2 separate regions of the Homo sapiens genome follow, and region 1 is linked to region 2. Evidence: promoter capture Hi-C in 16 types of primary human blood cells and fetal thymus (Javierre and others, 2016). All regions are on one chromosome and are shown on one strand. Each heading gives the region's core, a stretch centred on a gene start or on the middle of the fragment in contact. The rest is flanking DNA. Distances are from core to core; before and after follow the strand shown.

Region 1 (4,004 bases), core at 1,073-3,572, 1.2 Mb before region 2:
GGAAAAACCCAGGGAAACCTGTCTATTTTTTTTTAATAGAGATGGGGTCTCTCTGGTTTAATACAGATGGGGTCCTCCTGGCTCTGCCTACCAAAATGCTGGGGTTGCAGGCATGAGCCACCATGCCCAGCCTGTTTATTTTTTTGAGAGAGTCTCGCTCTGTCCATTTTTGTGCTTAGGTTCAATGAAGAGTGGGCAGCCATGTAGATGTGGTTGGACAAAAGGGTAAGATCCAATGGTAATAGACTGAGAACAGACCCAGTCTGTCTGTTCAGATTCTTCTTGGCCTCTCCGTATAGCTTTCCCTCCTCCTGGGTTTAGAGCAGGACTCCTTTGGAAAGGGGACCTACTATCCAACAAGGTAGGGTAGATAATTTCTTTATTTCTCTATTCTTTATGTCTGCTCTTACACAGAAGAGTGAGGAATGGTAATATTTCTAGGTTTTGTAGCTTCCTTTGGGAAGAGGGGTTTTAGTTTCTATGACCTGCCTTTAGTTTCCATGACTCACTTTGGGGGAGAAAGAGAGGTGGGAGACAGGAGGGCAGAAGGAGGTCAGAGAGAAACTGCTTCTGAGGCCTTTCAATCTCCTTTAGTTCAAAGTACTCAGCATGCCAAAGCACCATGCTTTGTGGTATCATTTTCCAAACCCCAACATGGTATTAAGGCACTTAGAGTTTTTAAAAATACCAATTATATCAAGTAAAAGAATACCTATGGAAACACTTCAAAAATATAAAAGTTACATGATATATTAATATAATTTTTGCATATGTATGACTTATAATCTTATTGTTTGCTTTTTATTTGCAGATTTTGTGACTGAAGGCACTGCACTGTGACCAAAAGTGCCAAATGAGTTTTTTGAGTCTGTGTTAAATACATGAGGTTTCCACTGATGCCTGGAAGAAGCAGATCAGTCTGTGTGGTAACATCAAGGGAAACTTCCATTCCTTGAGAGCCCAAGCGGTAGGAAGCGAACAGATGAAATGGCAGTCTCATTAGAATGGCTGGTGATTTGCTCATTCGACTAATTGAAGGAATTCAACAATTCAAGTCGGAGCTACAAAAGTCACAATTTTGAAGCCCACACAAGAAGGTTTCATTTGAATCTCTGCTCATTTGGAAAGGGAAAAGTCCCTAGGATTGCCCAGCATCCACAACAAAGCAGAGTCTGCTAAATTCCCATCATTTGGGAAGAGGAACTTTTTTTTTTTTTTTTTTTTTTTTTTTTTTGGCTGAACTATCCTCCAGATCTCCTGGGCGGGAGGAAAAAAAAATGGTCATCAGATATGTAGGCAGATGGGCTGTGATCACCACTGGAAGCTCGAAGTATTTGGGGAAACTGAAACTGTCTAGGGATAAAGCTGCCCTGGTTTGTGTGTTTCTGGTTTCACTGATTAAAAAAAAAATCCATCTACCAAGAGTGGATAAATTTTAAAATTCTGCCATGCCCAGTTTTCGAAGCCCCAAATGCGATATAGGAACAGCTGTGGTGTGAATTAGTTGGTCTAAGCTTTTGGGCCGCTTCCAACTTCTCTATTGCTCACGCCCTACAGGTCAAGGAAAGAAGTGATGTAATGCACTTAGCTAGGCCACTTTAATTACAATGGAATGGAGAGGGGGGAGGGGTCACAAGCGGTGACAAGTTTAGCGCATGACTTGCCCTGGGGATGCAGGAAACAAAAACATCGACGACCATTGGCTGCGTTGGCTTCCGACCCCGGGTCTCTAACCGAGCTCCAGGTCTGGAACCTTGAAACACTTTTCCTGGGAAAAGGGGTGGCGCTATCCCATAGAGCGTCAACCTTAAACACAAACAGCACACACGCACCCACGCAGGCTGGCGGCGTCCTCCCTGCTGGGATGGGCGTCGGGCCCAGTGCTTGGCACACGGTCCCCAGGAGCTTCCCCCGAAGGTTCCCCCGAAGCCAGCCACAGCTGCTCAGCTCGGCGCGCGGAGCCCGCGGTGGTACCGAGTCCGCACAAACCCGGACCCGCTCCAAGTGAGCCGCGTTGTCGTCATTCATTCGCAGTGTCCGGAGCGTCCTTCCAGCGGGGAGCTGGGCTTCCCTAGTGGCGCCTGCGGCCCCGACACGGCGCGTTAAGGCGCGGCGACTTCGGGAGCTCGAGCAGGTAGAGACGGGAGGGGCTCTGGAGCTCCAGTCGGCGCCGCGGGAGCAGCAGCGCCGGAGCCCAGCTTGGCCCTGACCGCGGGGCCGAATCCGCTCGGGTGGCCCTTAGCCCTGCCTGGCGCTGAGCCGGATCCCGGGACTGAGCTATACCACTTCCTCCTCCTCCCGCTCCCTTCCTCCTCCTCTTCCTCCTCCTCCCGCTCCTCCCGCCGCCGTGGGCCGGGAGCCGGGCTGCAGAGTGCCAGGCCGGGCGTCTGCGGCCGCGGGCTCTCGCGGGGCGGCGACGCCGCGGGGAGGATGCTGCTTGCCGCGCCCGCGTCCTCACCGTCCTCCCGGGCCGCCTGCTGGGGCTTTGTTGTGGCCCGGACGCCGCGGGCCACCCCCTGAAGTCGCCTGCCGCCGCCGCCGCCGCACCTAGCGGACGGGCGGGCGGGCGCGCGTGTGCCCAGGAGTGCGCGCCTGTCGCGGTGGTGGGTGCAGGACTGGACCCACGGGCCCATTGTGCGCCCGCCCGCGGCAGCCAGGACCATGTGGGTGAACCCGGAGGAGGTGTTGCTGGCCAACGCGCTGTGGATCACCGAGAGGGCCAACCCATACTTCATCCTGCAGCGGAGGAAGGGCCACGCCGGCGATGGAGGCGGCGGCGGCGGACTGGCGGGTAAGGACCGTGGCCGATCCCTGCAGGAGGGGAGCCGGGAGCGCTGCGGCGCCGCCCGCGGCCTGGGCTGCAGGCTCGGGAGACGCCGCCCGGTCCCCTGGGGCTGGGCGACCCGCCCTGCCTCGTTGTATGCGAGGCATCGAGAGTCGTGATGTTCAGGTTGGGCAGAGATGCTTCTTTTTTTGACTCTGTCAGGCTTGGGGCCCTCAGCGTACTGAGCGCTCTTTAAGTGGATATGTTGAGGAGAATGGGAAAGAGTGAGTCTGGGGCGGAGGGAATGTATTATCCCCTATATATTGAATGCATCATTCCCTTCCCCTCCCCCCCTTAAAAATATTGTTTTCCAAATGGAAAAGAGGGATGGAAGAAGGTTAATTTTTGCTCCACTTTCTTTACTGGCAACAGCAGGATCAGGTATAAAATGCTCTTTTGTTTCCAGGGAAGCGATAAGTAAGGAACTGATGTGGTCATTTCCTATATGAGTTATGACCGAAGAGAATGAATACGGAAACAGGAATTTTTTTGTTTCACCTAATTAGACATAAAGCAAAGCAAATTGTCTGGTTCTAGTTGTAAAAATAATTGGCTGTATAACTGCATTTTAACTATTTTTGCTCAATCACTTCTTCCCTAAACCCCCTCCCTTCAAGGTATTATTGTAATTGTTGCTGAAGCCATGTCATATCATTCAGGATAATAAGATCAGTCAGACCCATATCCAAAGTAGTGCCATATTAGAAATAATCTCGAACTCATACCATACTAGAGAAATTGGACCTTCTCCATCTCTGTGTTATTTAGAATGAACAGAACTGGAATACTTTTTACAGTGAAAAAGTTAGCAGAAGAAATAGTAGAGGTTTCACTAGAAAGGAGACTGCAAAAAAGAGATGAACTTTGACCCTCCTCAGAGTTGAGCTTATATCAACCTCATATATCACCTGGAGTTTGCACAATAGGTAAATTGTTGCTTTCAAATGCTGTGCTATGAAATAAAGATTCTTGATATATGTATTTACTTATGATTATATTTATAAACTAATTTTCTTAAGATTAAAATTCAGGTGTCATGTGGTACAATGTATACTGGTATGTTTGAAGGATCTTGATTCTACCAGAAAAGATAAATCTGCAGAGCTCCAGACCCCATTCTGGAAATACTTACTAGTGATCTGATACCAGGATTTTCCAGGTCATTTTGTAGAAGTTATCT
Region 2 (3,960 bases), core at 194-2,693:
AGAGGACCAATTGCAGGACTCAATAATCTTAATTTTAGCCTAGTAAAGTAATTTTTCAAAAACAATTAGAGAAAATAATATCTATGAAAACACATTTGGTTTTGGTGGCGGTTTGTCTTTATTTTTCAAGTTTCTGCAATCCTATTGTTTTTCTAAAGTAATTTCTAAAACAGATGCCCCTTTGAAAACTATTTCCAATTTTTCTTTGTGTGTGTGTGTGTGTGTGTGAGGGTTTTTTTTGTTGTTGTTTGTTTTTTTGAGATGGAGTCTCACTCCGTGGCCCAGGCTGGAGTGCAGTGCAGTGATGCCATCTCGGCTCATTGCAGCCTCCGCCTCCCAGGTTCAAGTGATTCTCCTTCCTCAGCCTCCCAAGTAGCTGGGACTACAGGCATGCACCACCAGTTTTTGTATTTTTGTAATTTTTGTATTTTTAGTAGAGACAGGGTTTCACCATGTTGGCCAGGCTGGTCATGAACTCCTGACCTCAGGTGATCCACCTGCCTCTGTCTCCCAAAGCGCTGGAATTACAGGCGTGACCCACCGTGCCTGGCCTCATTTTTTTTTTTTCAATCATTTCACTCAGCAGCTTCACTAGGCCCAAGCCTGACATAAGAGTTTTCATATCCCATAATGCAAAAAACCCCAAGAACTCTGTGAAGGAACAATATTGGCCCAGAGTCGACCCAAACAGGGAGATCTGGGCTGCATCTTCCCTCCCCTCCCCGCCCCAGAAAGTCTAAATTTAGTTTACTGGATACCCTGCAATGACATTAACATGTCATTGCAACATTAACATGTTGCAAAAACAAGAATCAAGCAAAAGAGAAAGAGGAAGCTTAATGTGGCATGAGGTATTTTAATACCATGGCAACTGTGGTGTCTTCTCTATTATTTAATTCACTTCCTTAGGTCAGGTTATTCTGCCCTCTCTCTCTTGCACTTCCTGTTGCTGTAATCAAATCAGGTCACCCTGAATCTGTAAGTCTTCTTCCTGACTGCACTCATGTCTATTTCCAGCAGAATGAATTTTCTCCATTTCTTTCTTTGCTCCCTGGACCTTTATTTGGTGCCCTTGATGTCCCTGCTCTTCCCAGTGCTCCACAAGCTGCAAACGCTTCCCTTTCATCCCCATCTCCTCCCCCACCCGTCTCCTCCTCGCTGCTCCTCTCCCAGCCCCTCCCTCCAGCTTCTGCAGTTGTCACTAACACAGTTAGCCACTTGATTAGTGACTCAGTGATTCAGAACCCAGGAACCTTGGTTCTCCTAAAACTTCCATGCTTCCCTCCCTAGAGTCAAGATAAAGGTTCTCCCCTCACCTGCCTGCCCAGATAGAGCCATTAACGTGAGAGGACTTGAGTATTCAGTTTGTTGGAGTTGCCCTGGCTTCTTCCCATTTCCTTTTTATGTGCCTTTTCCTGGGGCTTCTCAGGCTCTATTTACCTTTTCTCCAGAAAAGGTGGACAGAGAAGGTTTGAGCTTCGAATTTATGTAGCCCAACTCTTCATTTACAGATGGGAAAACGAAGGCCCCCCCCCCGGCCCCCGCAGAACTGAATTGCCCAGTTGCTTGGCTAGTTCTTGGTGGAACCAAAACAGACAAAGCAAAAACTCAATCAAACTGGCTAATTTGGTGGGAAAAAATCTTGTGAAGGAGTGAGCAGTGCCAAAACGAGACTTGATGATTATTTAAAAGGTCTTTCACTAATTTTATCCTTGTCATCCTGCTGGCGGTGTAAGCAAGTGATGGAAACCAGAGCCAGGCCAGCAACCATAAAGCCACCAGGGCTTCTGGAGAGGCTCTGATGCGACTTCCTACCGCTGAGGTCTCAGAGGCTCCTCCCTCCCAAATACATGGAGACCCAGAAGACTGCTTGGGCCCCTCCACTCCCTGCCAGCGGGCAGGATGAGGAGTCAGTAACAGCCAACAGTAGTGAATCCCACATAAGTTCCACATTCACTACTTGTTTCACAATTCGCTTAGCATGCATAGCAGCGAATTGACAGAATTGTTTCCCCTAAATGTAGGAAGGTGCATAAAATACAAGAAGCTTGTAAAAATATATTTATTGCAAAAGTTATATCAGTCTTGTATGTAAGCACCAGCCTTCTCCAGGGAAAGACAGGGGTGGTAGAATGAATAAAATTAACTCAGTATTTTGACTGCTTGCTGCAATGGAAGAGGGAATTATGTTTCCCAAGCTGGGTATGAAGAGAAGGAATATAGCCTTGGAGGCAATGGAAACTAAGCCAGAGCAGCTTAGAAAAGTCACCCCTCCTCCTGATTCAAGACCAAAGACAGGGAAAAAAAAGTCACTCTCAGTGTGAACATGAAAGCAAGTCTCACCCAGCCTAGATGTTGGATGTCCTGTGCGGTCCCGTTCCTCCCTGGTAGAGCTTGTTCTGTCTCACTGGGATCTGCCAAGTTAGGAGCTGAGCCACACTACTTCTGCTGCTGCTGTTGCTGCTGCACATTGTTTGTGATTAAGAGTTTTATTGATTTTCTAGCCCATGACCACATTGGTGGGGACAGAGTACGACAGGGGAAACTGGTGGAAAGCCAAGTAGAAAGAGAGTTTATGAAATCAGCTCTCAATGAAGAAAACTGTGGGAAAGAATGCGATGGAAGCAGATTTGGGGCCAGTCGATGTGGGAAAGTAGAACAACTCAAAAATGCTCTTCAGATTTGAACTGAAACAAAGCACTTTGCCAAAACATAGGAGGAGAATCCAGTCTGTGAGAAAGCCTCAGCACTGTTTATATAAAACAGAATATTCCTATCTGCAAAATCATTGCTGACAATGCTTAACCCACATTCTGTACCAGGCACTGTGTTGTGTTCTAGGACCATAAATAAGAATCAGTCCGTCTAGAGAAGGAGACTCGAAACATACACAACATGATTTGTAAAGATACAAGTGGATCTTAAGAGAGTCATAAAAACATTTTGCCCCAGCTTTGGGCCCAGAGCCAGCAGGAATGAATGGTGGGGGAAGAGGGATGGGACTGTGTCCCTGCTGCTGCCTGCCTCATGTGCAGATCTGGTGAAGGTTCTCTGTAGTTTGACCCCGCATCACTACTGACTTTGCTAGAAAGACCCTGCTCCCTTCCTGTCCCTGCCTCTTGTAGGTCCAGAGGACCCCTGCTTCACCGACGGCGGGGGCCGGGGTTGGGGGGTGCCGTAGGCAGGGTTTCAGGTGTTCTCAAGGTAGTAGGTAGAAAGGGAGCGCTTGACAGTTTGGGTGCTTAGTACAGGCTGGGAAAACCTCACAGCACCAAGGGGACAGTTGGACACTTGCAACATGATTCCTCCCCTCTCCTTCACTCCCACACGTACCCACCCACCATGAAACTGTGTCTTCTGTACGTCTTGAGAGATTTCTTCCAGCCTCCCAGCCCTGCCTCACTGCCTTTGAGTAAGAGAATAAAGTCTTTTTGCTGCTTCCTTCAGCTTTCAGCATTGTTTTTCACCCTGAAAATCAACTGGAAACTGGGGAAGACGAGTATCTGGTATGTTTTAGTGCACCAGTATAATATGCAAGGGAGGGGGTGATATGTAAAAAGGTTAAATGAGAAAAAATATCATATAATTCAAAACCAGTGAGTGACCGAGCTCAGTAAATGATGGCTTTTTAAAAATCAGATATAAAATCCTGTTTCTGTGGTTCATGTTTGAAAATGATGTAACCTAAAGTGGCTCTTTCATCTTCCACTGCACGTACACCTTCTCTGTTTAGCCTTGGACTCCCAGTATCTGCACTGGAGGACTTTAAGGAGGTCAAACCTAAGCCAAGAGACTTCAGAGAGGTATAGACTAAGCTAGAGGGTGTCTTGCTTGAGCCAAAGAACCTCAGAGTGCTCTAGCCTAAGCCCCAAGGACCTTATGTCAATGTAGACTAAGCCTCTAATCTGGAGGAATTCAGGCTGGCTGGCTGGGCTCCCAAGACACCTCTGCAGGTGAGCA

The links. The method cuts DNA at HindIII sites, captures the fragments that hold promoters and counts their contacts. A CHiCAGO score of 5 or more calls a contact.
Region 1: the fragment with the promoter of TBC1D9 here is called in contact with a fragment that was not itself captured in region 2 in 2 of 17 cell types (total B cells and monocytes); the score reaches 7.7 in total B cells.

The regions. Positions count from the first base shown.
Region 1 is chr4:140,754,703-140,758,706 of GRCh38, reverse strand. TBC1D9 (TBC1 domain family member 9) reads left to right here and starts at 2,322. Exons shown (of 21, transcript NM_015130.3): 1 at 2,322-2,791. The coding sequence starts at 2,662. RefSeq lists enhancers at 1,800-1,849, 1,340-1,981, 1,982-2,624 and a silencer at 2,280-2,969. The HindIII fragment of the contact is 6,603 bases long and covers 1,517-4,004 here.
Region 2 is chr4:139,557,801-139,561,760 of GRCh38, reverse strand. No RefSeq gene overlaps it. Among named protein-coding and RNA genes, the nearest start is that of SETD7, 3.6 kb to the right of the region's middle. The HindIII fragment of the contact is 1,212 bases long and covers 838-2,049 here.